4 separate regions of the Homo sapiens genome follow, and regions 1, 3 and 4 are each linked to region 2. The links are contacts of gene promoters, found by promoter capture Hi-C in blood cells and fetal thymus (Javierre and others, 2016). All regions are on one chromosome and are shown on one strand. The core of a region is centred on a gene start or on the middle of the fragment in contact, and the rest is flanking DNA. Distances in the headings are between cores, read along the strand shown. Region 1 holds the start of AGMAT (agmatinase (putative)). Region 2 holds the start of FHAD1-AS1 (FHAD1 antisense RNA 1). Region 3 overlaps TMEM51-AS1 (TMEM51 antisense RNA 1). Region 4 overlaps CASP9 (caspase 9).

Evidence for each region. The method cuts DNA at HindIII sites, captures the fragments that hold promoters and counts their contacts. A CHiCAGO score of 5 or more calls a contact.
Region 1: the fragment with the promoter of AGMAT here is called in contact with the fragment with the promoter of FHAD1-AS1 in region 2 in 2 of 17 cell types (neutrophils and M1 macrophages); the score reaches 14.2 in neutrophils.
Region 3: a contact is called between a fragment that was not itself captured here and the fragment with the promoter of FHAD1-AS1 in region 2, in 3 of 17 cell types (monocytes, M1 macrophages and megakaryocytes). The highest score is 7.5, in monocytes.
Region 4: a contact is called between a fragment that was not itself captured here and the fragment with the promoter of FHAD1-AS1 in region 2, in 2 of 17 cell types (neutrophils and M1 macrophages). The highest score is 6.1, in neutrophils.

Annotation. Positions count from the first base shown.
Region 1 is chr1:15,581,947-15,587,671 of GRCh38, forward strand. It overlaps AGMAT (agmatinase (putative)), which reads right to left and starts at 3,105. Exons shown (of 7, transcript NM_024758.5): 1 at 2,750-3,105; 2 at 1,247-1,449. The coding sequence starts at 3,021. RefSeq lists an enhancer at 2,598-2,647 and a silencer at 2,758-3,087. The HindIII fragment of the contact is 7,120 bases long and covers 19-5,725 here.
Region 2 is chr1:15,342,251-15,348,025 of GRCh38, forward strand. It overlaps FHAD1-AS1 (FHAD1 antisense RNA 1), which reads right to left and starts at 1,633. Exons shown (of 2, transcript NR_148919.1): 1 at 1,526-1,633. FHAD1 (forkhead associated phosphopeptide binding domain 1) reads left to right here. Exons shown (of 34, transcript NM_001391957.1): 17 at 2,833-2,940; 18 at 3,166-3,273. RefSeq lists an enhancer at 3,543-3,742. The HindIII fragment of the contact is 5,872 bases long and covers 1-5,069 here.
Region 3 is chr1:15,122,836-15,128,842 of GRCh38, forward strand. It overlaps TMEM51-AS1 (TMEM51 antisense RNA 1), which reads right to left. Exons shown (of 5, transcript NR_027136.1): 2 at 1,393-1,538. Among named protein-coding and RNA genes, the nearest start is that of TMEM51-AS1, 27 kb to the right of the region's middle. The HindIII fragment of the contact is 8,431 bases long and covers 1-6,007 here.
Region 4 is chr1:15,494,187-15,499,679 of GRCh38, forward strand. CASP9 (caspase 9) reads right to left here. Exons shown (of 9, transcript NM_001229.5): 7 at 1,087-1,266. Among named protein-coding and RNA genes, the nearest start is that of CELA2B, 21 kb to the left of the region's middle. The HindIII fragment of the contact is 2,610 bases long and covers 2,031-4,640 here.

The DNA.
Region 1 (5,725 bases), core at 1,855-4,354, 240 kb after region 2:
ACAGTTAACATTTATTGAAGCTTCAGATATGCCATGCATAGGTCGGGCGCAATGGCTCACGCCTGTAATCCCAACACTTTGGAAGGCCGAGGTGGGCAGATCACCTGAGGTCAGGAGTTCGAGACCAGCCTGACCAATATGATGAAACCCCGTCTCTACTAAAAATATAAAAATTAGCCGGGCATGCTGGCGGGCGCCTATAATCCCAGCTATTCAGGAGGCTGAGACAGAATTGCTTGAACCCGGGAGGCGGAGGTTGCAGTGAGCCGAGATCGTGCCATTGCACTCCAGCCTGGGCAACAAGAGTGAAATTCTGTCTCAAAAAAAAAGAAAAAAAAAAAAGATATGCCATGCTTGATGCTGGGCATTTCATGTGCACTTTCATTATATGCCCCTCACATCATGCAGTGAGTAGGTGTTACTGTGATCATTCCCATCTTACAGGTGAGGGTGTGAAGCATCAAGCACGGTATACAGCAACATTGCTAGGGAGAAGTGCAGCTGAGACTTCAAACCATGCCATCGGGAAACCACACTCCTCCCACTATGCCATGCAGGCTAGGCTCTCTAACTTGGCAAAAATGAATTTGGATATTTAGGAAAAGATCCCTGTCATTTTAAGTATTTGTGAACAAGAGAAAAAGTGAGAGTGGGTCAGGGGTGAGGATAAGGGGAAAGCTGCCCTATAGGTTGATGTAGACCCTGAGCAGGACAAAAACACCCTCTTTGCAGTTCTCCTCGCAAATAAAGTCATTAGAAACATCATCTTGGCCAGGCGCGGTGGCTCATGCCTGTAACCCCAGCACTTTGGGAGGCCAAGGTGGGCGGATCACTTGAGGTCAGGAGTTCAAGACCAGCCTGGCCAACATGGCAAAACCCCGACTCTACCAAAAATACAAAAATTAGCCAGGCATGGTGGTGGGCGCCTGTAATCCCAGCTACTTGGGAGGCTGAGGCAGGAGAATTGCTTGAACCCAGGAAGTGGAGGTTGCAATGTGCCGAGATTGCACCACTGCACTCCAGTCTGGGTAACAGAGTGAGACTGTCTCACACACACACATACACACACACGTGAAATATTCTCTCCCCAGGGATTAAAATAAATGAATTACAATGCTCTCTTTCCTACTGTCTGCACATTTGCAGTGGCTTGCAGGGGAGAAGTAGCTGTACTCAAGCCCCTGAGTACAGGATAAGTAAACCCTGAGTGCAGGGAACTACTCTGGCTCTTGCAGACTGACATTACCCAAGGTCAGAGGAATACAGCCAGCTGCTACAATTTTCTCATAGGCCTCTTGAATTCGCCGGCAGCTGTCCTGAAGGTTGTAAAGATTGACATTCACATCGCCTAGGTCTGCAACCATGAGGGACTGGAAGGGGAGGGCCCCCGTGCTAGGATTGACTGTCCCAAGCATCACTGATTCTTCCCGGATGCGGCGAGGTCCGAATCTGCAGAAGGAAGAATCATCCTGTCAGCCATCATCTGCAGAGATTTCAGGCTTTGCTTAGGCCAGGGCTTCTCAGCCTCAGCAATTTGGGGCCAGATGATTCCGTGTCGCGGCATTGCATAATGGAATGCTTAGCAGCATCCCGGCCTGTACTCACTAGGTGCCAGTAGCACCCTTCCTCCAAGGTGTAACAACCCAAAACGCCTCCAGATACTGCCAAATGTCCCCGGAGTGCAAAACCGCCCCACTTGAGAATCACCGATCTAGGCTATGTATCGAAGAGACTAAATAAGTGTACTAAATGGCATTAGTGAATTTCATGATCTACCTGAGTCTCAGTTTCCTAATTTGTAAAATATTTACCTTGCACTGTAGTAAAAATTAAATGAGGTAATCTATGCAAAGCACCTTGCACTTAGGAGACATTTAATAAGTGCTGGCTTTCATAATTCAGATCAGTACGGTCAGATATAGTGTTGCTGAGCTGAATCAGAAATTGCTGACGTTCAATAACTAGGAAGATGAATTTTGCTTCCTCCGACTTGATCCTAGGAAAATTGCCTTCATTTGAGCATTTCTTGAGTCAGGTGACATCTTCAGATTTGGGGAAGGGGCAGCCAGTTTCTGCTCTCAAATGCAATGTCACCTGCCACTGTAAGCTGGGGAGAGGAGAGGGGAGGAATCCACAGCAGCCATCCCAGCAAGGCCCCAGGATGGGGACACAGAGAAGGTTCAGGCTCCAGAATCCCTTCTTTTTTCTTTTTTTGAGACGGAGTCTCACTCTGTTGCCCAGGCTGGAGCGCAGTGGCGCAATCTCAGCTCACTGCAACCTCCGTCTCCCGGGTTCAAGCGATTCTCCTGCCTCAGCCTCCCGAGTAGCTGGGATTACAGGCCCGCGCCACCATGCCCGGCTTTTTTTTTCTTTTTTTTGTACCTTTGTAGAGACAGAGTTTCACCATGTTGGTCAGGATGGTCTCGAACTCCTGACCTCGTGATCCGCCCGCCTCAGCCTCCCAAAGTGCTGGGATTACAGGCATGAGCCACCGGGCCGGCCAAAATCCCTTCTTGACCAATGATGACACTAAGATGTGGGAGGCCACGCCCATGTTGAGCCCTGGGGTTTGCTTATTGAGGGTCCAGGTAAATCAACCATCTCAAACCATAAGGGGCATTTTGGAGCCGGCCACCAGCTTCCAACTCGACCCGGGGCCAGCAGGGGCGCCTGTCTCGGTGCTTTCCATGCCCGACAGCCAGCAAGCAGTCCCTCCACGTGTACCCGGCCCCCGTCCTTCCGGCCTTACCTCGCCCCAGGCCGGTTGGAGGTCCCAGTATCCAGGGGCACCCCGATGAAGGCAGCGTCCAGCCCCTCGGGGGAGGTCTGCACCGGCAGGCGCATCATGGAGCAGACGCCCACCGGCCGGGCCACGAACTCGGGGCTGGGGGGCTGGTTCCGGGGCGCGTCGGAAGCCTGGCGGCTCTGGCGGCGCCCCGGATGAAAGAGCCCTGCGGCAGGACGCGCGCCCACGCCGGGCCCCGGGCCCCGGGCGCACCCGGACGCCAGCAGCCTCAGCATTGCCGCGCGCGGCCAAGACCTCACCGACCAAACCGCCCGCGAGGCCGCCGCGATCTGGCTGGTCCCGAACGGCGAGGCGAGTGTGCACGCGCCAGAGCCGGAACCCGAGCCGGCTCAAAGGTCAGGGGCGCCCTAGGATCAAGGCGGGGGAGGGGCCCCAGGACCTGCCGTGCTCTCCCCTCAACCCCTCTGGACTTCAGCCTCTGGCAAATAGAGTCAGGCTGGGGGTGCCCACTGGCCGGCACTGTGCCAGGGGTGTCTGCGCCCTGCTCCCCACTGTGGCCTTCAGCAGCCTCTTCTCCCATTCAGAGTAATTGTTTGTTTTTATAGAGACGGTCTCACTGTGTTGCCCAGACTGGTCTCCAACTTCTGGACTCAAGTGATTCTCCCACCTTGGCCTCCCAAAGTGCTGGGATTACAGGTGTGAGCCACAGCAGCCACCCCAGAGTAATATTTTTAAAGCCAGAAAGATATGAAGGAAAATGATCTTTCTCTAAGCCAGAAAAATAGGAAATGCATTTTTTTAAATAATGTATTTTTAAATGTCCAGGGATAGGAATCTCAAGAAGCAGTAAAGTTAGTTAGCTACTTAGCTAGCTAGCTAGTTATTTTGAGACAGGGTCTTGCTGTGTTGCTCAGGCTGGAGTGCAGTGGCACAATCATAGCTCACTGCAGCCTCAAACTGCTGGGCTCAAGCAATCGTCTCACCTCAGCCTCCCGAGTAGTTGGGACTACAAGCGTGAGCCATCGCGCCTGGCCAGTAAAGTCTTTTTAAATAACCTTGTTAAAAAAGGACTAGAGGCCAGGGGCGGTGGCTCACGCCTGTAATCCCAGCACTTTGGGAGGCTGAGGCGGGCGGATCACGAGGTCAGGAGATCGAGACCATCCTGGCTAACACGGTGAAACCCCATCTCTACTAAAAGTACAAAAATTTAGCCGGGCATGGTGGCAGGTGCCTGTAGTCCCAGCTACTTGGGAGGCTGAGGCAGGAGAATGGCATGAACCCGGGAGGCGGAGCTTGCAGTGAGCTGAGATCAGGCCACTGCACTCCAGCCTGGGCAACAGAGCAAGACTCCGTCTCAAAAATAAATAAATAAATAAATAAATAAATAAATAAATAAATAAAGGACTTACAGGCAAGCTGTAAGGAAGGTCACAGTGCCAGAGAACCTGTTACATCCTCTTTATTTCTAAGGGGAAAGAAAAACACACGTGGAAAGAAAGAAGTGATTTGTAATGGAATTATGTGAGCCATTTAGCAGTATTATATATATTATTTTTTCTGATCTCTAAATGTTGAGATTGAATGGAAAAGGCTCACATTTGCATTTACGTTGCAACCTCTACACAAAGGTTGCACATTAGGCCAGGCGCGGTGGCTCACACCTGTAATCCCAGCACTTTGGGAGGCCGAGGTGGGCGGATCATGAGGTCAGGAGATGAGACCATCTTGGCTAACATGGTGAAACCCCATCTCTACTAAAAATACAAAAAATTAGCCAGGCGTGGTGGTGGGCACCTGTAGTACCAGCTACTCGGGAGCCTGAGGCGGGAGAATGACGTGAACCCGGGAGGGTGGAGTTTGCAGTGAGCCAAGATCGCGCCACTGCACTCCAGCCTGGGCAACACAGCAAGACTCTGTCAAAAAAAAAAAAAAAGGTTGCACATTAAACCCCACACCACTCCAGCCTCCACTCTGGAGTGGAGCCTCCACTCTGCAGGTCGGGACAGAGTTTCCTAATGGTCAATTATCAGTGCTTAGTGTTGGCCTTGGGGCAGGTCCCAGCCATTTTCTGGAACAAATGCAACAATCTCTCAGTTATTTTTTCCTTTTTTTCTCCCTTATGCCACTTAAAGGGTCTCAGTTATTCTCTTGACTCCCAAATTCAACTGCTATTTCTTTCATGTTGCTTGTCCTGAATGTATCATGTTCTTACTCCGGGTTTTTCTTTCATTCAGCTCACAAATATTGAGTGTCCGCTATGTGCCAGGCGTTCCAATGAGGTGTCCCCAACATCCACTACTGCTGAGCACCCTCTCTCCTTGAAACGTTCCTCAGGCGGCCTCTTGACTGGGACTCCCCTGGTCTCCTTCCACCTTCGTGGCTCCTTCTCGGCTGGCAATCCCTTTTAATACGGAGGTGATGACTTTCACCCATAGGCAGGTCAACCACAAGCCCAAATCCCAGCCCTGAGCTCCAGGCGACCAATTTCTAACCCTGACCTGGATGCTTGACAGCACCTGGGGTGGGCTGCAAGTTCAGCCAGCGACTTTCCACCTCCCTGTCTCTGATCCTGCTCTACGCCCCCAAATTTAAGAAGTCCTGATGGTTTCCTGCCCCCAAGCCTTCTGCTCATTTCCTCTGCTGTTACTCTGGTCCAGGCCTTCCCACCCCAGCTTTCCAGCTGATCTCACTCTCACTAGTATCACCATACATATGCCTGCCCGGTAATGCTTCCTGGAGCCAATTCTTCCTGTGTTTCCCCTTCTGCAGCTCCACGGGCTTGTTCCTCCAGCCCATGGTCAGCTGCCTCAGCCCCCACTTTCTTGCCTCCTTTCCTTTGTTCATGCTTTTCTGTCTGCCTGCAGTGCTCCACCCCAGCCCTCAGCTCCACATGTCCAATGTTCAGTAGAAGCCCACCCTCAAAAGACCCTGAACTTTTTTTTTTTTTAAGGGAGATAGAAGTCTCGCTCTGTCATGAAG
Region 2 (5,775 bases), core at 383-2,882:
CTTTTGCTTTCTCTTTATACATATCGGGGGAAACAAATGGTCAAAATTGCTACTGACTTTTCTAGAAATCAAGCCAGTTAGAAGATAGCAGCATCTCTAAAACTCGAACGTGCCCATGAATTGTCTGGGGATCTGGTTAAGATGCAGATTCTGTCTCAGCAGGCCTGAGACGCTACATTTTCAACAAGCTCCCAGATGGTACTGACGCTACCAGTCTGCAGATCCACATTTTCTTAGGGCGAAGGCTTAGAGGAAGGTTTTCCCAAAGTTTCCTGATAAGAACCATCCAGATGCTTTGCTAAAAATGCAGATCTTGGTCTCCACCCTCCAGACCCATTAAATCAGAACATCTGGAGAGGGCCAGGAAACTGTATTATTTAATGAGCTGATTCTCATCACTGTCCTAGAGTTGGCCCTTTTTTTTCTTAAGATGGGGTCTTGCTCTGTTGCCCAGGCTGGAGTGCAATAGTGTGACCATAGCTCACCACAGCCTCGAACTCCCAGGCTGCAGTGGTCCTCCCACCTCAGCCTCCCAAGTAGCTGGGACCACAGGCATATGGCACTACACCCAGCTAATTATTATTTTTTTTTGTAGAGATGGGATCTTGCAATGTTGCCCAGGCTGGTCTTGAACTCCTGGGCTCAAGTGACCCTCCCACCTCAGTCTCTCAAGTAGCTGGGACCACAGGCACACACCACCACACCCAGCTAATATTTTTATTTTTTGTAGAAATGAGGTCTCTCTCTATGTTGCCCAGGCTGGTCTCAGACTCCTGGCATCAAGTGATCCTCCCACCTCAGCCTCCAAAAGTTCTGGGATTACAGGTATGAGCCACCATACCTGAGGGTTGGCCCTTTTTGATATTCAGGGACCCCTCCCATGAATTTCACTGTCTTTATGACTTTTGTCATTTAGGAGATTAAAAATTACTAATGCCTTGCACCTCTCCCCGCCGACTCTCCACATTCTGATCTTAGTGGGGTGAGGGTGTGGCCCCTGCTGTGGGATTTCTAAGCACTCCCGGGTGGTCGCAAAGTGCAGCCACGGTTGCGAGCCACTGTTGTGGGTGGGTGTGGAGCAGCGTGTGCATGCTGCCCCTCCTCACAGCCCCCTCAAGACAGCAGCCCCCCAGATCCACCGGACCCCAACTCTTCCCAGATATCTCCTCTCTTCCCCGGAAGAGTACTGGACCTGCCCCCTTCTCCATCTTTCCCCAGCTCCTTCTCTACCACACACACCTGCCCTCCAGACCTCTCCCTCTTTCATCTCCATCCTCACATGTGTGTCCAGTTACCCCAAAACATCAGTCTCCTCCTCCTTCTTCTCTTTGCCTCTTTCTCTGCTTTTCTGCATTTGCGAAATAAAAGATTAAAAAAGAAGAGCCATCTGACCAAATCATGTGCAATCCGCATAAAGGTAATATTAATGATAGCTATAAATCAAGATGGGCACATTTTGAAGGGCATTTAGATACGGAAAAAGCCAGCACCGTTCCATAGAGAAGAAAATAAAACCAGAAAGTACCTAGAAATCTTCAAAATCTTCGCAGAACTCTCCACCGACTTCCTTTTTTCTTCTCTGATTACCTTCTCCTTTTAACATCGGCATCCCAAATGCCTTATTTTCTCTTTTTAATTTTGGATGGACTTTTTCCCTTGTCAGGGTTTGGTATTTCAGCCCCACCATGTTAAACACTGCGTTGGGCGCCTGCCTAGTCTTCCTAGACAACCCTGGCGACACTGGCCTGGCAGAGTGTTTTAAGAGCTGGCGTCAGCCCCTCTTTTAAACCTGAAAACCTCGGTGCACCCTACCCTCCTTGCAGAGGGAGGAAGCAACATCAGGTCCCTGCCAGACAGACTGTGACACTCGAAGGTCGCCCTTCCTCTGATACTCGGATTGATGGACTTGACCCTGGGGACTCCTTGGAAAGTTACCTCTTGGACTTCAGTGCCAAGTGTCCTGACTAAATGAGCCTTCCTTAGACCTTCTGACTCCCATCACCTGCCCTTTCCGAAAATACATGTGTCCAGGGTCATTAATCTCATGAATCTTGACTTGTTTGAGGACTTTGTTTCAAAGGGAAAAAAAATTCTATGTTCCTTTATCAATCTAACATTCTTTTCTTATTGCCAGTTGTTGACAACAATCCCTTGGTTTGTGCACACACCAATGGGTTAGATCAGGGATTGGCCAAATTGTCCCATAAAGAGCCAGATAGTAAATATTTTCAGTTTTGCAGGTCATATGCTCTCTGCTCTTCTGCAAAAGCAGCCATAGACAATACACAGCAAGCACAGTGTTCCAATAAAACTTTATTTACAAAAACAGACCAGATTTGGTCTGTAAGCCATAGTTTGCTAACCTCTGGTTTAGAACACAGGCTTCAGAATCAAATGGGTCAGAGTTAGAATCCCTCCTCTTGTGATTTACTAGTAAACTGGGTGGATTCTTGAATGTAAGCCTGTTTCCTCCTCTGCAAGGTGGGAAGCATGGTTATCACTGTGCCAAGCATTTCGTGTTCATCGTCGCATCCACCCCTCACATCAACCCAACACAGGAAGACTATTACTGTCTCCGTTGTACAGGCAGGGAAACTGAGGCTCTGGTAGCTTCACTTCCCCAGTGCCTTACAGCTGGAAAGGATCAACCTGGGGCTCTACCCTGGGTCTCCTGACTCCAGAGCACATGCTCTGAGCTCCTAGGCTCTGCTGCCCACAGCCTCCCCAGGGGAGTGCGGTGAGGAGTGAAGAGGTAGCACATGCAGTGCCTGGCAGCGTCCAAATTCCTGCCATGGTAACCATGTCTGTTAAACAATGGTCATTGGTTTCCAGGCTTTGGAGGAGTACATTACTCAAGAGAGAAACAGAGCGAAAGAGACTTTAGAGGAAGAACGGAAGAGAATGCAAGAACTGGAGAGCCTCCTGGCCCAGCAGAAGAAGGTATGTGGCTCAGGGAGACAGAGTCAGCTCGAGCCCCACTGCAGCTAGGAAGGGTGGATCTGGGGCTCTGGTCTGGGCCCGCCGGCTCTGAGCTCCAGGGCTGTGCTGTCCACAGTCCCCTAGGGAGGTGTAGTCTGGAGGGAAGAGGAAACCTGTGCGGTGCCTGGCAGAGTCCAGTTTCCTCCCATGGTAACCATGTCTATTGAACAATGATCGTTGACTCAGGCTTTGGCGAAAAGCATTACCCAGGAGAAGAACAGAGTGAAGGAAGCATTAGAGGAAGAGCAGACAAGAGTCCAAGAGCTGGAGGAACGCTTGGCCCGCCAGAAGGAGGTACGCTCGGGGAGATAGAGTCGGCTGAGCCCCAGTCGGCTTGAGGGCCATGTGGAAGGAAGTTCAGAGCGGCGATGATGGGGGTGAGATCGTGGTGGAGCCTTCCTCGTGGAGTTTGCGTTTGGGTGGGCTCAGCTACTTTGGGAAGCGTGGGAGACTCAAGGAGGGAACCCTGGAGTTGTAGCCTTGACAACCAGTTGGGAAAAAATTGTAAACAGTGTAAAACACAGTCAGAGAGAGAGAGCGCTTGGGAGACAAGTAGGAATGGTGACATGGGCGTCTTCTGTGTTCCAAAGCACAGAAACGGGAGAATGACAGAGTCATGGGACCTCAGGGCTGCGTGGACCCTCCACCAGCATCCTAAAAGCCTCCAGCCTTCAGCACCACCACTAAGGAATGTTCTCCACCCCAGGACAGTCCGTCCCAGCATGGATGCCTCAGGCCGACAGAAAGTTTTCCCTTTAGGTTGAGTTGTGTCAAACTCTTACGCCCCGGAGGAGTATCAGTCCTCCGCCCTCCCCTGCGCTCCCACAAGATACATCTACTTCCTCTTCCACATGATGACTCAGATGTGTGAAAACAGGGGCGCCCGCACCCTGTGTCTGCTCCTCCCCGGGCCCAAGCGCCCTTGTTCCTCAGGTCCCTCACAGGACTAGAGCCTGGCCCTGGCTGCCTCCTGTGGCCTGTGCTGCTCTCCAGAAGTCACAGACTGGTAGCTCAGCGACTAAAAAGGGCCTGTGGAAGTTATATTTGGCCCCGGAATATTTTACTTTGAATTCATAAAATCTATTTAAAAGTTCAGATTTCCAGCCTCTCCCGAAAAGTCAGAAAATCTAGCCCTTGTTTCTACTTAGCAAAAATGGACTAGAAGCCTTACCGGGTAGCAGCAGTTTGCCAGAGTCCTCACCACTCCCCGTTGCATTAAACACAGCCCACGTCATTTTTGGTATCTGTCCGGGCTTCATAGGCATTGAGTTTGTCACCCATCACCCATTTTCTTCCTAAAGGGAGGTGGCCAGAACCACTGTTCTCCAGCCACGGTAGCCTAGGGGAGGACTCCTCCCTCCCGCATTGAAGATATTCTACTTCTGTTAATGCATCCAAACTAGCTTTTGGGAAAGCTCTGTCACATTTGTGGATTCATGTTTAGCTTGTGGTCACCCTCAGATCCCTGATCCTTTTTCACATCTGCTTTCATGAATTCCTCAATCCTGACACAGCACAGAGGAGTGCGGGCTTTGCAGCCAGATGAGACACAAGTTCAAATCCGAGCTGGGCTACTTCCTGGCTGCAGCAGACCTACCGCTGCCTCCCTTCTCGAAGGGGCGGCTGTGGGCTCAGATCTAGTGTATAATGGAGGGCCTGGCCTGCGGAATGATTGCCGAGTAAACGGCAGCTGTTACTACTGTCTCTGCTGCCACTTGTGCCTCTTCTTCTGTTTGGGCATTTGTTTTTCTTCAACACTGACTCCTTGAGTAAAATCCTTGCCCACCCACTGCTGCAGGAGAAACAAAAAGACCTCTGGGCAAAGCCTGTGCCATTTGATCTGACCCAGGACAGAGAGACGTTTACATGTCGGTTCTCCCTTGGCGTCTCTGGCACAGGTGTGCCCTGCAGCCCTCTCACAGAGCGTCACTGAGGTTTGCCCCCAAGTGATTTCTCCAGGGGTGGGGATGAGGAGGAGGGTCTCCAAAGAGTTACTTGAGTCAAATGCCCCAAGATGTCAACAGCAAAAGCCTGGGGAAGATTCTTGAATTTAGAGACTTTGAGGCCACGGGGCTCAGGAGATAAATTCAAGCTTCATTGCAGAGGATCTGTGGTTGGGTCACCCCGCGTCTGTTAAAATGTCAGCCTACTTCTGACAGAACTTCTCTGTGGCTTCCTATCGGGGGAATTTGAAAGAGCAGCCCCAGCCACAGGCTCCATTCAACTGCCAGTGGCTATTTGATTTTCTTTTTTTCTGTCTCCCAGGCTGGAGTGCAGCGGCATGATCTTGGTTCACTGCAACCTCTGCCTCCCGGGTTCAAACGATTCTCATGCCTCAGCCTCCCAAGTAGCTGGGACTACAGGTGCACCACCATGCCTGGCTAATTTTTTGTATTTCTAGTACAGACGGGGTTTCACCACGTTGGCCAGGCTGCTCTTGAACTCCTGGCCTCAAGTGATCTGCCTGCCTTGGCCTCCCAAAGTGCTGGGATTACAGGCGTGAGCCACCGCTCCCGGCCTGATTTTCTTTTCATTAGATCTTCCGCCACATCATCAGGGTTTTTAAGGTCAACAGAATCACTAGGTCATAATCTGGGTCTTGAGGTCATGTTCAAAGTTAATCCCCATTATCTGTTGTGAACTTGGAAGCACAGCAACTGAGCATGTAGGGCCTGTGTGTGAGCCAGGCAAGGCCTCTCTTACCAATAGTACCTGTCCCGACTGCAGAGAAGCCACCCAGAGGAAGGCCTGGCGAGTGTAGACGCAGAGTCAGACACAGCAGAGCCAACCCTAAGT
Region 3 (6,007 bases), core at 2,068-4,567, 220 kb before region 2:
AGCACTACTGACATTCTGGGCCAGTTTTTGTTTTGTTTTGTTTTAATTTTTGTAGAGACAGGATCTCTCTTTGTTGCCCAGATTGGTCTCGAACTCCTGCGCTCAGGCAATCCTCCCACCTTGGCCTCCCAAAGTGCTGGGATTACAGGCATGAGCCACCGCACCAAGCCCAGATCATTCTTATAGGATGTTTAGCAGTATCCCTGGCCTCTACTCACTAGATGCCAGTAACAACATCTGTCTACCTAGTCAGAACAACTCAAAATTTCTCCAGACATTGCCAAATGTCCCTGGGGGAACAAAATCATCCCTGATTGAGAATCACAGCTGTATGTGTTTTTGCTCATTTAGTCTCCACAACAATCTCGGGTAAGCATTGTTTTCCCCATTGGTCAGATGGGAAACTGAGGCACGGAGTGTTCCATAGATTTCCCAGTGTCCCACCTTAGTGAGTGGCAGCTAGGACCTCAGCCTCAGCAGACTGGCTCTCTGTGGAGTCTGGGCTCGAACCCACTGGGCCATTACAGCCTTGGCCCTAAAGCTGGCTGGTCACACCCAGCTGTTTACAGTAAAATTTCCTGAAGCCAGATGTCCCCAAGGCGAAAAAGACCTCCTCATTATTAAGTACTGCACGGTTGGAAGCTGGATCCACCCCCTCTGCCTGGAAGAATATTGCTCTGTAAATTATAGGCTTAAAGGGTAAAGACAGCCCCATCAGCCCCGTGAGCTCCTGACTTAAAACAAGGTAATAATTTAGGGACTTAGAAAGGTCTGGTTCGGTGAGTACTTATAATAGCTAATCTTGCACCACACCTGCATCATCACCACCTTTTTTAAATTTTTAAATTTTATTTATTTTTATTTATTTATTTTCTTGAGACAGAGTCTTGTTCTGGCGCCCAGGCTGGAGTGCAGTGGTGCAATCTCGGCTCACTGCAACCTCCGCCTCCCAGGTTCAAGCAATTCTCCAGTCTCAGCCTTCCAAGTAGCTGTGACTACAAACACGCGACACCACGCCCGGCTAGTTTTTGTATTTTTAGTAGAGACGGGGTTTCACCATATTGATCAGGCTCGTCTTGAACTCCTGACCTCAGGTGATCTACCCACCTCAGCCTCCCAAAGTGCTGGGATTACAGGCCATCATTTTTTAAAAATAGACAATAGGAAACAACCAGGACATTTTGGAAACTTGCCCACGTCCAAATTGGGCAAGTGATTCAGGCCCGGCCACTAATACAGCACATTAGCGGCGGTGCCTGGCAGCAGCTGGGTGTGCCAGCCTTCCTCCCCTTCTAACCAAGGTTGGAGCTGAAAGACCTGGTGGGGCTGACTGTCTGTCACCCAGGCTCTGCCACATACACCAGGCTGTGTGACGTGGGGCCAACTCCTTACCCTGTCTGAGCCTCGGTAGAGTCGGAGCGGATGTTCTCTGAGGTCTTTTCCCGGCTCTGAAGTGGTAGGTTGGGTGAGGAATGGAGGTGTGGGCTGGGTGGACAAACCAGGAGGGGTCCCTGTTCTTCCATGTCCCACCTCAAGTCCTAGATAAGGAAGAAAAAGAATGGACACCCTCCTATCACCATGACGCCACATGGCCGTCGACAGCCACCACCACTCCACACACTCACAGGGACCCGCCTGCCTGCGCCCCAGGCGCGGCCCGGGACCTCCCAGTGGGGGTCCGCCTCGAGCCTTGTGGTTTGGATTTCATGGGAAATTCCTGGGTGGGAACCAATCAGGATGGAGAGGGGAAAGCATCTCTGCTGAGACCTCCCGATTGATTGGCTGGCCTCAGGGAACTGCTCCGCCCCCACTCCGTGAAGTTCTTGGAGGTGGGGGTGCTGCTGATCTTAGTGCCCTTAGGATCCTGCTGCCCCCACCTCACCCCCAACCCCGCCTTCAGGGAAGTCTCAGGATCCTGGCTGGACCAATCCAGCCCTGCAGCCCTGGCCCATGATGAAAGGCCCGGGAGTAGACTCCAAACCTGAGAGGTGAAAATCAGAACCCTTTCCGACAGGGCTCAGAATTGCAGGTGGCGGTGAGCTGCCGCTTTTTTTTGGATCTTAAGCTGTACGACGAGTCCCAGAGCTGCAGGCTGCCCCATCCCACCCACAAGGAGATGCCTAGAGAACGGGGCCCAGCCAGAGTCGGATGCCTAGATGCGGGAGGGGGGCAAGGACAACTGATCTATTCTCAGATCCAGTCGTCTCCAAGGCCACGTCCACCCCTGCTTTCTGAGGTTTGGTTGTGATGCACTAAGCACCACCACCCTACCATTCCCATTTCTCTGTGTCTTAGTTTGCTAGGGCTGCCATAATCAAGAGCCACAGGCCACGGTGCTTGCACAACAGACATGGACCCGCCTATGGTCCTGGAGGCTGGAAATCCAACCTCAGGGTGCCAGCAGGGTTGGCTTCTTCTGAGGCCCCTCTCCTTGGCTTGCAAACGGCCATATTCTCCTTGTGGTCCATCCACGGTTGCCTCTCTATGTATGTGTGTGCCCAAATCGCCTCTTCTTATAAGGCAGTAGTCATGTTGGATTAGGGCCCACCCATCTGACCTCATTTGAACTTAATTACCTCTTTAAAGATCTGATCTCCAAATACACCCTTAGGTACTCCACATCTGAATTTTGAGGATATGCAATTCAGCACGTAAGAGTCTCACACACTACCCCCATCACCAGCTAAAGACAACTAGAATTGGATTCCACATGCTTGACTGGAGAAGATTCCCAGGTAAATGACCTACTGTCCACTGGCCTTGACACTGAGGTGACTCCCACCCTTTCTCCCAGCAACTACATACCACACACATGCACACACACAACTCTCGCCTGCATTTTAAGGACTCTATCTGCATTACACAGAACAACTTGGAAGCATGAAAGAATCCTAAATTCTTCTGTTTTTTTAATTGACCCAGTCTTGCTGCTAGAGATGAGTAACAAGTGCCCCCATTTTTCCCGGAAAAAGACAAGGAGTTACTATTATTCTTTATTATTTTCTCTTCTTTTCTCCATTTCTCCCTGTTCTTCACTTCCTACTTAGCTCTTTAGAAATGCAGTTATAGCCTTTTACCTCCTCTTCCCCACACACTCCTTACAGGGCAAGTTCACCTAATCATGTGCTTAGAAGCTCCAAAGCAAAACTCTCACCCACCAGGAGGTTTCCTCGATAGATAACAGTTGATTGATGACCCAAAGTATGCCCATGAAGATGCCAACTCGAGTCCCAGTAAATAAGCCATCAAGGTAGCATGTGAAACCCCCCTGCTCACTTCCACCCCTGTGTAGGCCCCTTTTAAAAACACTCCCCTTCTGCTCCAAAGGCAAGGTGGAACCCTTAAGGCAGGAAGCCTGTACTTCTTTCCCTATGTTAGCTTTGGAATAAAAAGTCACTTTCTTTATACCAGACCTAGCTTGTTAATTAGACTCTGCAAGTGGCGAGGAACTGAATCTGCATTTTGGTTACAATGTCGTCCCCTTGAGCCTGTGAGAGTTGCAGAGTCAGAAGCCAGGCTGCTTTTGTGGGCAAGTTATGGCTCTGTGTCTCCTCACTGCCATGCCACCATCTGGACACCCCAGGACCATCGCCCCTCTTTTGGTTTCTTCACAGGGTTTCCACATGGCTCTTTTCTGGCCAGGTTCCTCTCCAGGACAACTCCGGTTCTAGCTCAGGATAGAGATCAACCCAGCGCCAAGAGGATGGAGCCAACACCACCCTGACAGCACAGAGCCCTGGTACACTTGCTGCAAGATGCTCTTCCAGGAGCCTCTCAGAGATAGATGGGCATGCAACTGGCATCCCCAAACAACTGGAGCAAGTCTTATCAAAGTTGCTTCCATCATTTATTCACTCAACAAACACTTGCTGGGTGTGTGTGCCTTATGCCAGCACTATGTGAAATAGATCTACTGACAAAACAGTCTCTGGCCTGAAATAATGCACACATACATATATATCATGTCAGCAGGTGCTGTGAAGAAAAGAAACACAAAGCAAGAGTGAAAGACTCCAGGAGACACGTGTTAGGTGGGCAGGTTCATTTGGTTTTGTGGTCACTTAACCCAACAAACTCCAGCATCGAGGTCACCAGAGGCTTCAGACTGGCTTGTTAAAAACGGCAACTTTGCCGACACCCTCTTGGTGACACAAGAGTGAAGGCCCTGGGGTGGAGTCCTCACTCACAGGAAAGCCAGTCCATGTCACTGACATCAGTCTCCAAACCCAAGCAGAAAGTTCCTCTATGGCTGGGTTCCCCAAGACCACCCTGACTATTCCAACCACATCCACAACCAGCTCTACTATTATTGGCATAATAGCTGCCTATTTTAAATCGGGCCAGACCTGACATCACTGCCTGTGTCTGTGTAACCACAGGCCTAAGACGCTGGCTCTGTTTTCTAATACATAGATGTGGGTACGGATATGTGTGCCTCTATGTGCCAAGTATGCACATAAATATACAAATAAATATTCCTGCAAATGCTCACCTGCATGTCCCCCAAATCAGGTCACACTCCATGAGGGACATAAGTGCCACAGTTGGGAACCACTGCTTTATGGCACCCAACAGATTCCTCATGCAGCATCGGCCTGCAGTCTCCTGTGGCTGTGAGCTCACTGTACCATGAGTCTGCCTGTGCCCTTCTTAGTTCCAGTTGCTCATGGGGACTTTCTATCACTCTGCCTCCTGGTCCCTCTTCCACGTTGACCCTCTGTTATTTGTTTTGTTTTGGGGAGACAGAGTCTTGCTCTGTCACCCAGGCTGAAGTGCAGTGGCACGATCTTGGCTCACTGCAACCTCTGCCTCCTGGGTTCAAGTGATTCTCATGCCTCAGCCCCCTGAGTAGCTGGGATGACAGGCATGAGCCACCACACCCGGCTAATTTTTGTATTTTTAGTAGAGACAGGGTTTCGCCATGTTGGCCAGACTGGGCTCGAACTCCTGACTTCAGGTGATCTGCCCGCCTCGGCCTCCCAAAGTGCTGGGATTACAGGCGTGAGCCACCGCGCCTGGCCTGTTATTTTTTTTAAGCAGCATAAATGCCTCCCTCCCAAAACATCTCCTTCCCCCAACCCCATTACAGACCCTCAAGCCTTTTCCATGCCCCTTGTCCTTCTTCCATGGTCTCCCCTTCCATCTCTTCCTTCTCTGGACAATCCTCTCATAAATACATCCCTGAATAAGGACACCGTGCTCCCACATAGGCCCAAGCAGTGGAATCGTAATGAAGGGCCCAATTCCCAAGGGTCAGGCCCTGTGCCCTTTACATGAGATCTAATTGAGTCCTTGCTGTAATCCTGGCAGACAGGTACTCTTATCCCCACTTTACAGAGGCAGGAAAAAGTTAAGACACTGGCCCCGGGTCACATAACTAGTAGTATCAAAAGTAGGGATTCGAACCCAGATGTTTTTAACTGCTATCCTCCCTTAACCTGGACTTTATGCTCCTAGTAATACGATCGAATATTGTATCAGCTTTTAAAATAATCTACATCCCACAGTTGCCTCATTTATCTTGTGGGCAGCTGAATGGGTGGTGTTCAAGTCAAGCTGCTCACGAGAGTCACTGGAGTACTCTTGTTAAAAGTTCCGATTTCTAGGTCCTTCTCCAAAGCCAATAATTTAGGGTTTTGAGATAGGGCCTAGGGAATCTACACGCTAAAGTTAAAATGCTTATTTCCAGGCCTCGGGATTTCTGATTCACTAGGTGTGGGGTGAGTCTGGAGCCTACGTAGTTTTTAAACTTCCTTTGGTGATTCTGTGGCATGACCAGGGGCCTGGGACCAACCGCCCTGGTATATATGGCTCCACTATAGGCAGCGCCTGGGCCATTATAGCTCGCAGTCCCAGAACTCGCCACTAGATGGCAGGACAATACGCCCCTCACCAGCCTAGCCCAGCTCAGCTCAAGAAGGACCAAAGCAGCCTAGGCCACTCAGAGATCCAGGCCCAGTAGACAAAGTTTCAGGTGGGCAGGGCCCCCCACCATCCCTGCCAGCTG
Region 4 (5,493 bases), core at 2,086-4,585, 150 kb after region 2:
CCCCTGATTCCGGCTATAATTCCTGTTTTCCCAGCAAGGAAACCAAGGCTTGGAAAAGTCAAGTGACTCATCCAAGACATAAGAAAGGAAGGAAACTGCCAGGCACAGTGGCTCACACCTGTAATCCCAGCATTTTGGAAGGCCGAGGTGGGCAAATCACTTGAGGTCAGGAATTCTTGACCAGCCTGGCCAACATGGTGAAACCCTGTGTCTACTAAAAATACAAAAATTAGCTGGGTGTGGTGATGCATGCCTGTAATCCCAGCTACTTAGGAGGCTAAGGCAGGAGAATTACTTCAACCCGGGAGGTGGAGGTTGCAGTGAGCTGAGATCATGCTACTGAACTCCAGCCTGGGCGACAAAGCAAGACTCCGTCTCAAAAAAAAAAAAAAAAAGGCTGGGCGCGGTGGCTCACGCCTGTAATCCCAGCACTTTGGGAAGCCGAGGCAGGTGGATCACGAGGTCAGGAGATCGAGACCATCGTGGCTAACACGGTGAAACCCCATCTCTACTAAAAATACAAAAAATTAGCCAGGCGTGGTGGCAGGTGCTTGTAGTCCCAGCTACTTGGGAGGCTGAGGCAGGAGAATGGTGTGAACCCGGGATGCAGAGCTTGCAGTGACCCAAGATCGCGCCACTGCACTCCAGCCTGGGCAACAGAGCGAGATTCCATCTCAAAAAAAAAAAAAAAAAAAAAAAAGAAGGAAGGAAACTACCGCTTGCTGCAACTACTACGTGCCCCGCACTGTGCTCAGTGACGTGCCAGCCACCTTGTTTAATTCCCATGGAAACCCCTGAGGCACGATTCCTATTCCCCTGCTAAAGATGCGAAGGCAGAGGCAGGGTCAGGCAGAGGAGAGGCAAGTGAGGCATAGGAACCCAAGGGCGCAGGCCTCCTTGCAGCGCGCATCCTTGCCCGCTCAGCCTGAGCCGAGGCTCAGAGAGAAGTAACTTGCTCAGGGTCACAGAGGGGCAAAAGACAGAACCAGGACTCATACCCTGGTCTTTTCTCTCACCACACAGCTGCCTCTAGGGCAGACGGGAAGACCCACTGGCTGCGAGGACGAGCCCTTCTGATGTGCTCACCTGGGAAAGTAGAGTAGGACACAAAGATGTCACTGGGTGTGGGCAAACTAGATATGGCGTCCAGCTGGTCGAAGGTCCTCAAACCTTCCTGGAACGGGGTGGCATCTGGCTCGGGGTTACTGCCAGGGGACTCGTCTTCAGGGGAAGTGGAGGCCACCTCAAACCCATGGTCTTTCTGCTCTGCAGGAAGCAGAAACAAACACCTCTTGTCATTGAAATACACAGACAAGGATGGTTCAACATATGAAAGTCGGTGCAATATACTACATTAACAGTGTGAAAGGAAAATAAATCTTGGGACCCCAAACTCATTAAGCCAAACGGAAAAGTCAAGCTGGGAACTGGGTCACGCAAACCTGCCTCCCCGTTTTGGTTCCTAAATAAGATGGCTACAAGATGAAAAGCTACACACCTCTCCCATATTTTGCCCACAAGGAAATTCCTGGTGAGCTCCAAGATAGTTGTCTGATAAAATTCACCACGGCAATGTAAATGGATAGCTTATCTTTACAGAGGCATCACCCCTCTGCCCACCTGGCACAAATGCATATCTGATTATTCCCCTGCCCCATTTGTCTTTGTTATCTTACGTAAAAATGCAGGTTCCCTGCATTTTCCCCTGCCCTATGTTACCTTACGTAAAAATGCAAATTCACTGAGCCAGACAAATGCTTGAATGACTATTTCCCCCTACCCTGCTCTTACCTGAAAACTGTGTACTTCTCAATATCCTGCCCTTTCCCCTTTAAATTTGGAACCCTAAAATTCATGTTCAGAGAAAGGCATAGACCTGTCTCCTGGGCGTGCATCCTTAACTTTGGCAAAAGAAACTTCTTAAATTGACTGAGACCTGTCTCAGATTTTTGGGGTTCATAAGAGAATGAAAAAAACCCTACATCATCATCTCAATTGATGCAGAAAAAAGCACATGACAAAATTCAACAAGCTTTCATGATAAAAACAGTCAACAAACTCAGAATAGAAGGAAACTACCTCAACATAGTAAAAGCCATATATGAAAAACCCACAGCAAACATTATACTCAATGGTGAAAGACTGAAACCTTTTTCTATAAGATCAGGAAGAAGGCAAGAATTTCTGCTTTTGCCACTTCTATTCAACACATTACTAGAAGTTAATAGAGCAAGGAGGCAAGAAAAAGAAATAAAAGACATTCAAATTGGAAAGAAGGAGTAAAATTATCTCTACTCACAAATGGTATGATTTTATATGCAGAAAACCCTAAAGATGAAACACTATTAGAACAAATAAAATTAGCATATTAGCAGGATACGAAGCCAACCACAAAAAATACTTCCATTTCTATACACTAACAATGAACAATCAGAAAAAGAAATTACAAAAATGGTTCCATTGACAATAGCATCAAAAATAATAAAATAGTTAGAAATTAACTTAACCAAGATGAAAGACTTGTAAAATGAAAACTACAAAACATTGCTGAAAGAAAGAAGGCTGGATGCCATGGCTCACGCCTGTAATCTCAACACTTTGGGAGGCTGAGGCAGGAGGATCCCTTGAGCCCAGGAGTTCCAGACCAGCAAAACCTCATCTCTACACATAATAAAAAATTTAGCCAGGTGTGGTGGCATGTGCCTGTGGTCCCAGCTACTCGTGAGGCTGAGGTGGGAGAACCACTTGAGTCCAAGCAGTTGAGGCTGCAGTGTGCAGTGATCGCGCCACTGCACTTCAGCCTGGGTGACAAAGCAAGACCCAGTCTCAAAAAAGAAAAAGAGCCGGGCACAGTGGCTCACACCTGTAATCCCAGCACTTTGGGAGGCCAAGGCAGGCAGATCACCTGAGGTCAGGAGTTTGAAACAAGCCTGGCCAACATGGTAAAACCCCGTCTCTATTAAAAAATACAAAAATTACCCAGGCGTGGTGGTGGGCACCTGTAATCCCAGCTACTTGGGAGGCTGAGGCAGGAAAATCACTTGAATCCAGGAGGCGGAGGTTGCAGTGAGTCAAGATCGTGCCATTGCACTCCAGCCTGGGCAACAGAGCAGGACTCCATCTAAAAAAAAAAAAAAAAAAGAAAGAAAGAAAGAAAGAAAAATAAAGAAGACATAGGCCAGGCACAGTGGCTCACGCCTGTAATCCCAGCACTTTGGGAGACCGAGGCTGGTGGATCACTAGGTCAGGAGATTGAGACCATCCTAGCCAACATGGTGAAACCCCGTCTCTACTAAAAATATAAAAATTAGCTGGGCGTGGTGGCGTGTGCCTGTAATCCCAGCTACTCAGGAGGCTGAAGCAGGAGAATTGCTTGAACCAGGGAGTCAGAGGTTGCAGTGAGCCGAGATGGCGCCACAGTCCTCCAGTCTGACAACAGAGCGAGACTCTGTCTCAAGAAAAAAAAAAAAAAGATATAAATAAATGGAAATATATCCTATGTTCATGGATTAGAAAACTTAAAGATCTCAATACTACCCAAAGCAATCCATAGATTAAATGTAATCCCTATCAAAACCCCAATGATGTTTTTTGCAGAAATAGAAAATCTATCCTAAAATTCACACGAGAATCTCAAGGGACCCCAAATAGACAAAACAATCTGGAAAAAGAGCAAAATTGGAGGACTCACACTTCCTGATTTCAAAACTTACTACAAAGCTACAGTAATCAAAACAGTATGGTACTGGCATAAAGACAGACATAGGTCAATGTCATTGAATAGAGCCCAGACATACACCCTCACATGCGTGGTCAAATGAATTTTGAAAAGGGTGGCAGGACCATTCAGTGGGGAGAGGGCAGTGGTTTTTTGTTTTGTTTTGGGGGATTGTTTTTTGTTTTTGTTTTTGTTTTTTGAGAGAGTCTCATTCTGTCACCCAGGCTGGAGTGCAGTGGTGCAATCACAGCTCACTGCAGCCTTGACCTGCCAGGCTCAAGTGATCCCCCACCTCAGCCTCTCAAGTAGCTGGGACTACAGGTGCCACCACACCCAGTTAATTTTTGTATTTTTTGTAGAGACAGGATCTTGCCATGTTGCCCGGGCTGGTCTCAAACTCCTGGGCTCAAGCAATCTGCCTGCCTTGGCCTCCCAAAGTGCTGGGATTACAGGCATTTTTTTTTTTAAGAGACACACTTTTGCTCTGTTGCCCAGATTGAAGTGGCATGATCTTAACTCGCTCCAGCCTCAAACTCCTGAGCTCAAGCAATCACCCCAAAAAAATGGTTAAGATAGTAAATTTTATGTTATATGTATTTTGCCACAATTTTTAAAAAGACATAAAACTTGTCTTTTTTTAGAAATATAGTTGAGGAAACTGTCCACTATATCATAGGCACTCACTCAAACCCTTTACTCAGGCTGTCAAGATCACAGTGTCCCCTTTAAGACAACCAAGGGAAGAAATGTGTCTGGAGTCTCTATTCCTGACTTCTGTCTTGCAAATACCAGATATAGAACTATAGAACACCAGATTCCATGGATCTTGAAAGTGATCTTTTTTTTTTTTTTTTTTTTTTTTTGAGACAGAGTCTCGCTCTGTCATCCAGGCTGGAATGCAGTGGCGCGATGGCTCACTGCAAGCTTCGCCTCCTGGGTTCAAGCGATTCTCCTGTCTCAGCCTCCCAAGTAGCTGGGACTACAGGCGTGTGCCACCACACCTGGCTAATTATTTGTAGAGATGGGGCTTCACTGTGTTAGCCAGGATGGTCTTGATCTCCTGACCTCGTGATCTGCCCGCCTCAGCCTCCCAAAGTGCTGGGATGACAGGCGTGAGCCACCGCCCCTGGCCAATGATCTTATTTCCAATGGCGGCTGGAAAGCGTAAAAAATGCGCAGGCCACCTCTAGCAAGTAGCTATCAGTATTCCATTTTATGTAATTAGGCAACTGAGACTGAGATAAGTTAAGGGGTTTCCCCCCAGACAGAGGCTGACTGGGACTTTGACCTACCTCATTTTTGAGTCTACTATTACCAATGGCTGGGATTTTTCCATGTTTCTTTACATCTGCAAAGTGATTTTATCTCTAAAATCAGTCGTTGTATACCTTAAATTTTTAATTCACTTGTACATTAGAGAACTGTAGAAAGCTGCAGGACATCCTAGGATGTATTTTTGGAATCCAAACTTTTACTTTTCTTCTCTCCTTGTGTTCCCTCTCTATTTTGTCCTAGTGTTATCATTTGTACTTCTTGCACTATGGCAAATCCTTTTCTAGAATCAAAGAAGCCATCAGAAAAATACCAAATAGACACCAAGTCATGGATAATGAAATCCATGGAGATGTTTACACCTTCTAATCCAGTAATTTCCTAAGAAAATAATTCAAATGCAGTCAAAAGCTTTCTATATGAAGACACCTGTGGTTGTGTGAGCCAAAAATTAGATATCACCTAAATGGCCGACATTAGGAAAATGGTTTAGTAAATTAGTG